Linked DNA regions of Homo sapiens: region 1 is linked to region 2. Evidence: promoter capture Hi-C in human tissues and cell types (Jung and others, 2019). All regions are on one chromosome and are shown on one strand. Each heading gives the region's core, a stretch centred on a gene start or on the middle of the fragment in contact. The rest is flanking DNA. Distances are from core to core; before and after follow the strand shown. Region 1 overlaps ZNF845 (zinc finger protein 845). Region 2 holds the start of DPRX (divergent-paired related homeobox).

What was found. The method cuts DNA at HindIII sites, captures the fragments that hold promoters and counts their contacts. A contact is called where the count stands out against the background at its distance.
Region 1: a contact is called between a fragment that was not itself captured here and the fragment with the promoter of DPRX in region 2, in 2 of the 25 tissues and cell types used here (liver and thymus).

The regions. Positions count from the first base shown.
Region 1 is chr19:53,352,800-53,356,571 of GRCh38, reverse strand. ZNF845 (zinc finger protein 845) reads right to left here. Exons shown (of 4, transcript NM_138374.3): 4 at 1-3,772. The coding sequence ends at 2,984. It also overlaps the pseudogene LOC107987264. Among named protein-coding and RNA genes, the nearest start is that of ZNF525, 11 kb to the left of the region's middle. The HindIII fragment of the contact is 6,579 bases long and covers 1-3,772 here.
Region 2 is chr19:53,629,718-53,633,738 of GRCh38, reverse strand. It overlaps DPRX (divergent-paired related homeobox), which reads right to left and starts at 1,740. Exons shown (of 3, transcript NM_001012728.2): 1 at 1,605-1,740. The coding sequence starts at 1,632. It also overlaps the pseudogene RN7SL317P. The HindIII fragment of the contact is 20,441 bases long and covers 1-4,021 here.

The DNA.
Region 1 (3,772 bases), core at 601-3,100, 280 kb after region 2:
GGAGGAATTATGCCTCTCATTTATTTGCTTGTTTGAGACAGGGTCTAGCTCTGTCACCCAGGCTGGAGTGCAGTGGTGAGATCAGGGCTCACTTCAGCCTCAAAATCCCTGCTTCAACTGATCCTCCCACTTCAGTGCCCAGAGTAGCTGGGACCACAGCAGTGCACCACCACACCTGGCTGACTTTTTTTACTTTTAGCAGAGAAGAGGTCCCCTATGTCGCCCAGGCTGGTCTTGAATCCCTAGGCTCACGTCACCCACCTGCCTGGGCCTCTAAAACCGCTGGGATTACAGGCCTGAGCCACTGCGTCTGGTCTCATCGTAAATTTGATGTTTCTTCTTGTTTTAACAGAATTTGTATTGCTGTGATAGAGGTTCTTTTCAAACTGATGTCTTATCCTTCTGAGTGCCTCAAACTAGAGCCTGTTCAGACGTTATAACAAGTTTATACTGGTTTATTTTGGTACAAAAAGTGTGAAATTTATGCACAAATTTTTCATAATATGTATTTTTCCATGAACTTCTTGAAGACCCTTATACTAGCAAACTGTATTCAAGAGGATATAAAAAGGGATTGTAAACATCCAAGTGCTACCTATTCATGGGATGCAAGGATGGTTCAACATACTCAAATCAATGGGATACACACTTGCACAGAATGACAGATAAAAAACACATTATCTCAATAGATAGAGAAAAAGCATTTCACAGAACTCAATATTCATTCTTCGTAAAAATCCTAAACAATATAGGTAGAGTTTTACCTCAAAAATATAAAAATCATCCATGAAATGACCACAGCTGAAATAACCAATGAAGGAAAATGGAATGGTTTTCCTGTAGGATATCACATGATGCAAGAATGCTCTCACCCCTGATATTCAATAAATACTGGCTGTCCTAGGCAGAGCAATTAAATAGCAAAAGAAATAAAACTCATCCAAATCAGAAAGACAGAAGTAAAATTACATTTGTTGGGGCCGGGCTCATGGCTCACACCCATAATCCCAGCAATTTGCAAGTCCGAAGTGGGCGGATAATGAGGTTAGGCGATCTAACATATTCTTTCAAGTTCTCTTCAAGGTACTCACCATGTTGGCCCACCATCTGGGCCAACATGGTGAAACCCCGTCTTTACTAAAATAAAAAAAATAAATAAATTAGCTAGGTGTGGTGACATGCGCCTGTAGTCCCAGCTACTCAGGAGGCTGAGACAGAATTGCTTGGACGTGGGAGACAGAGGTTGCAGTGAGCAAAGATCATTCCACGGCACTCTAGCCTGGCGACAGAGAGAGACATTGTCTCAAAAAAAAAAATTATTTCCTTGTAGATGATACGACATTCTATATAGAAAATCACTGGCTGGGTGCGGTGGCTCACACCTGTAATCCCAGAACTTTGGGATGCTGATGGGGGCGGATCACCTGAAGTCAGGAGTTCAAGAAAAACCTGGTCAACATGGTGAAACCCCGTCTCTACTAAAAATACAAAAAAATTATACGGACATGGTGGCAGGCACCTGTAATCTCAGTTAGTAGGCAGGAGAATCACTTAAACCCGAAAGGCAGAGGCTGCAGTGAGCCAAGATCGTGCCATTGTACTCCAGTCCAAGTGACAAGAGTGAGACTCCTTCTCAAAAAAAAAGAAAAGAGCCTGGGTAACAGAGTGAGACTGTCTCAAAAAAAAAAGAAAGAAAATCACAAAGAATCAACCAAGATTTTACTGATACTAATAAACCCACTCAATGTATTTGCAGAATACAAAATCAGCACCCAAAATTAGTTGAATTTCCTTACATTAACAATAAATAATGTTTAAAGAAACTTATGAACACACTTCAATTTGCTATGAAACTTAATACTTACAAATAAACTGAATTAAGGAGGTGAGAAGCTTGTACCTTGAAATCTACATTGATCAAAAAAACTAAATAGACATACAACCCATATTGATGGATTGGAAGTCTTAATATTGTTGAATGATTATACAAACAAATGTGATTTAGATTCAACAGATACCCATAAAAACCCGTAACAGTTTTTATTAAAGAAACAAAATACAGGGTGGGAAAAGTGACTCATGTCTGTTGGCCAGTCTGGTCTCAAACTCCTGACCTCAAGTGATCTATTGGTCTTGGCCTCCCAAAGTGCTGGGATTACAGGCGTGAGCCACCCCGCCTGGCCCAATCTTCTTAACATAAACACTTTAATGTCAATTAATGCTTGAACTCAATGTTAAGTCAATTCAAACTCAAGTCAATGCTGAATTGACTCTAATGCCAATTAATGCTTGATGGTTTGCTATACTCATTGCATTTGGAACAATCATCTCAAAAATGAATTTTCTGATGTTCCTTAAGGGGTGATCTCAGACTGAAGACCTTGCCACACTGATGACATTTGTAAGATTTCTGTCCAGTATGGATTCTCTGATGTCTAATTAGGTGTGAACGTGAAGTAAAGGCTTTGCTGCAATCATCATACTTGTGAAGTTTGTCTCCTGTATGAAGTCTCCTGTTTTGCATAAGATGAAGCTAGACTGAAGACCTTGCCACAATCATGACATTTGTAAGGTTTCTCTCCAGCATGAGTTCACCGATGAACTGCAAGGTATGAACAATGTCTGAAAAATTTGCCACATTTATTACACTTTCAAAATCTCTCATTATGGATTCTCCAATGATTTGAAACGGTTGTAGTGTTACTGAAGACTTTGTGATAATCATTACATTAGTAAAGTTTCCCTATACCATGGATTGCCTGATGGTGAATAAGTGTTGACTGCCCACTAAAGGCTTTGCCACACTCAGTACACTTGTAAGGTTTCTCTCCAGTGTGACTTCTAGTTTGTTGGGCCAGGTGTGAATCACGCCCAAGATTCTTGTCACAAACTCTTACATTTGTAAGCTTTCTCTCCAGTATGAATTCTCCTGTCTTTCAAGACTTGATTTACAACTGTAAACTTTGTCACATTCTTCATATTTCTAATGTTTCTTTCCAGTATGAATTCTATGATGACGTGCAAGTTTTGCTTTTCGATTAAAAACCTTGCCACATTCATTACACTTGTAAGGTTTCTCTCCAGTATGAATTGTCTTATGAATTACAAGGACTGAATTGTGACGGAAGGTTTTGCCACACTCATTACACTTGTAAGGTTTCTCTCCAGTATGAATTCTATGATGACATGCAAGGTGTGCTTGTTGATTAAAAACCTTACCACATTTATTACACTTGTAAGGTTTCTCTCCAGTATGAAGTCTATGATGACGTGAAAGGTTTGCTTTTCTATTAAAAACCTTGCCACATTCACTACACTTGTAAGGTTTTTCTCCAGTATGAATTGCCTTATGAATTTCAAGGGCTGAATTGTGACGGAAGGTCTTGCCACACTCATTACACTTGTAAGGTTTCTCTCCACTATGAATTGCCTTATGAATTACAAGGGCTGAATTGTGACGGAAGTTCTTGCCACATTCATTACACTTGTAAGGTTTCTCTCCAGTGTGAATTCTAGTATGTTGTGCCAGGTGTGAATCACGCCCAAAAGCTTTGTCACAAACCTTACATTTGTATGGTTTCTCTCCAGTATGAATTCTCCTGTGTTTTTCAAGGCTTGATTTGCGACTGAAAACTTTGTCACATTCTTCACATTTGTAAGGTTTCTCTCCAGTATGAAGTCTAAGATGGCATGTAAGGGATGACTTCTGACTGAAGGCCTTGCCACACTCATTACACTTGTAAGGTTTCTCTCCAGTATGAATTGCCTTGTG
Region 2 (4,021 bases), core at 491-2,990:
CAAGAGATCAAGACCATTCTGGCTAACATGGTGAAACCCTGTCTCTACTAAAAGTACAAAAATTAGCTGGGCGTGATGGTGCACGCCTGTAGTCCCAGCTACTCGGGAGGCTGAGGCAGGAGAATCGCTTGAACCTCAGAGGCAGAGGCTGTGGTGAGCCGAGATTATGCCACTGCACTCCAGCCTGAGACAGAGGGAGACCCTGTCTCAAGAAAATAATAAATAAATAAATAAATAAATACGTAAATAAGGGATCGCTTGTGCCTTACCTCTTGGGTTCTATTTTCTTTGTGTAGAAATAGGCAACTCAATCCAAGGTGAAATGGATGGACATGGTTTTATTCTTATCATTTATTCAATGTTCATTAAGTATATTCTTTTAGGAATATAGCAAGGAAATAAGCAGAAAAATAACATCACTGCTGTCACGGATGTCACCTTTTACTTTCTTTTTCTTGAGACAGTGTACTGCTGTGTTGCCCAGTGGCATGATCACAGCTCACTTCAGCCTCAACCTCCCCAGGCTCAAGCGATCCTCTCACCTCAGCCTCCCGAGTAGCTGGAACTACACAACACTGACATGCCCGGCTAATTTTTGTATTTTTTGTAGAGACAACGTCTTGTTTTGTTGCCCAGGCTGGTCTTGAACTCCTGGGCTGAAGCGATCTGCCCACCTCGGCCTCCCAAAGTGCTGGGATTACAGGCATGAGCCACCGCATGCCTCGCTCTAAAAGATCTGAATCGCATCATGCCTGAAAATGGTTTGGCAGCAGCTCCAGAGTCTAGTAAGTGCTCATGAACATGAGATTTCCAGCTTGGCTAAGCCTATATTCTATCTAGGACCTAATCATCCTCATAGGAATCAGATTCCCCTGTGCTCAAGAACAAGCATCGGGGTGGGAAGAATTAGGACACAACTACGAGGGAGAAGATTTCGGATTTGAAGGCAGAAACAGGCTTCCCTGCATTTGCCTGTGCTGTCAGATGACAGCCGCGGCCGGGCACCGAGGCTCATGCCTGTAATCCCAGCACTTTGGGAGGCCGAGGCCAGCCAATCACATGAGGTCAGGGGCTTGAGACCAACCTAGCTAACATGGTGAAACCCCATCTCTATAAAGATACAAAACTTGGGCCGGGTGCAGTGGCTCACGCCTGTCACCCCAGCACTTTGGGAGGCTGAGCCAGACGGATCACAAGGTCAGGAGTTCGAGACCAGCCTGGTCAATATGGTGAAACCCCCGGCTCTACTAAAAATACAAAAAAAAAAAAAATTAGCCAGGTGTGGTGGCGTGTGCCTGTCATCCCAGCTACTCGGGAGGCTGAGGCAGGAGAATTGCTTGAACCTGGGAGGTGGAGGTTGCAGTGAGCCGAAATCGTGCCACTGCACTCCAGCCTGAGCGACAGAGTGAGACTGTCTCAAAAGACAAACAAAACAAAACAAAACAACAACAACAAAAACGATGACAGCCTCTGTGGGAAGTCCCTGCCACCCACGTGGACGAAGCACCAGCTTCGGCCGCCTGGTCCCTCTGCCTTTTCCCGCCGCCAGCTGCTTTCCACTTCTTCACGTGTCTTTGCTTCGGTTCTCATTTTTTCTGGCTTACCTTTACGAAGATCCTCTGAGCCTGGCATCTTCTAATCCAGATGTGCGCCTGGGTTCAGGTCCAGGGATAAGAACTAGCAAAGATCAAATCCGGATTTAAGTAGCTTCCTCCACAGCCACACCCGACTCCCACCTCCTCCACCTTTCTCTGCCCTATCTGCCTCCAATATGATCCCTCGGTCCTCCAGAGCCCCCTGGATTTCTCCCAATACTGTCATTTTATCTAATATTGATTGAGCGGAGACCAACGACTCAAAGGCGAGTCCACAAACCAGCCCCACTAACACTCCTGGGAGTTGTTAAAATGCAGAATCCTGGCCCACTCCAGACTTCCTGAGCAGAAGCTGCAATTTCTTTTCTTTTTTTCTTTTTCTTTGAGACAGAGTCCCACTCTGTCACCCAGGCTGGAGCGCAATGACACCATCTTGGCTCACTGCAGCCTCTGCCTCCCAGGTTCAAGGGATTCTCATGTCTCAGCCTCCCGAGTAGCTGAGATCACAGGCCTGTGCCACCACTCCTGACTAATTTTTGTATTTTTAGTAGAGACGGAGTTTCCGCCATGTTGGCCAGGCTGGTCTTGAACTCCTGCCCTCAACGTTTCTGACTCGGTCTGGGGTGGGATCTGATGATTTCCATATCTAACAAGCACCCAGGTGACCAGGCTCCGTAATGGGGACCGGGAATGTGATTGTGAATAATGAAGTCCAGGTTTAAACCCTAAAGGGGCTTTCAGGCAACTTATATATTCTTTAGTGGCTAATATATGCTTGGCATTGTTCTGCATATCCTGATTTAGTTAACTCACTCAGAAATCATCTCATTTTATTTATTTATTTATTTATTTAGAGATGGAGTCTCACTCTGTCACCCAGGCTGGAGTGCAGTGGCACGATCTCGGCTCACAGCAACCTCCGCCTCTCAGGTTCAAGCAATTCTCCTGCCTCAGCCTTCCCAGTAGCTGGGATTACAGGCACCCACCACCAAGCCTGGCTAATTACAGGTGGCTCACACCTGTAATCCCAGCACTTTGGGAGGCTGAGGCAGGCGGATCACCTGAGGTCAGGAGTTCGAGACCAGCCTGGCCAACATGGCGAAACCCCATCTCTACTAAAAATACGAAAATTAGCTGGGTGTGGTGGTGGGCACCTGTAATCCCAGCTACTCAGGAGGCTGAGGCAGGAGAATTGCTTGAACCCAGGAGGCAGAGGTTGCAGTGAGCTGAGATCGCACCACTGCACTCCAGCCTGGGTGACAGGAGTGAGACTCCATCTCAAAAAAATAAAAGAAAAAGCTGCAACACCTTTCAGATGCCCAGGCTCACACCATGTATACCTTTTATCTTGACGACAAGGGCAGTTTGACTTCAGGTTCACAGAAGTGGCAGTTTTTCTTGCCATTCCATCCATTTGAATCTCAGTTCTGCACATCTCTACTTGTGACAGTGGTTAGCCTTTGCATAAATGAGCTTGTAGCTACTTTTTTTTTTCTTTTTGAGACAGGGTCTTGCTATGTCTCAAAAAACACAGCTGACTGCAGCCTCGACCTACTGGGCTCAAGTGATCCTCCTACATTTGCCCCCAAGTAGCTGTGACTACAAAGGCCTAGGCCCAGCCTGGAGTGCAGTGGCAAAATCATAGCTCAATGCAGCCTTAACCTCCTGGGCCTAGGTGAGCCTCTCACCTAAGCCTCCTGAGTAACTGGGACTACAGGTGCACACTACCATACCCAGCTAATTTTTGCATTTTTTGTAGAGAAGGGATTTTGGCTAGGCTAGTCTCAAAGTCTTAGGCACAAGCCATCCTCCCACCTCAGCCTCCCAAAGTGCTGGGATTAGTAAGAGGCAGTCTGTGTTGCTCAGGCTGGAGGGCAATTCACAAGCTGATTCCACTACTGATCAGCATGAAAGTTTTTTTTTTTTTTTTTGAGATGGAGTCTCACTCTGTCGCCCAGGTTAGAGTGCAGTGGCGTGATCCCGGCTCACTGCAACCTCTGCCTCCTGGGTTCAAGCAACTCTCCTGCCTCAGCCTCCCAAATAGCTGGGATTATAGGCACATGCCACCATGCCCAGCTAATTTTTTTTTTTGTATTTTTAGTAGAGACAGGGTTTCACCATGTTGGCCAGACTGGTCTCAAACTCCTGACCTCAGGTGATCCATCTGCCTTGGCCTCCCAAAGTGCTGGGATTACATGTGTGAGCCACTGTGCCCAGCCAGCATGAAAATTTTGACCTGCTCCATTTTCAACCTAGACCATTTCCCCACTTCTTAGGCAACCTGGTGGGAGGTCACCATATTGATGCCGAACTTAGTGTGGATGCCCAATTGGCAGAGCACATTACAGCCTAGAACTCCTGGGTTCAAGCCATCCTCCCGCCTCAGCCTCCCAAAGTGCTGGGATTACAGGTGTGAGCCACTGCAC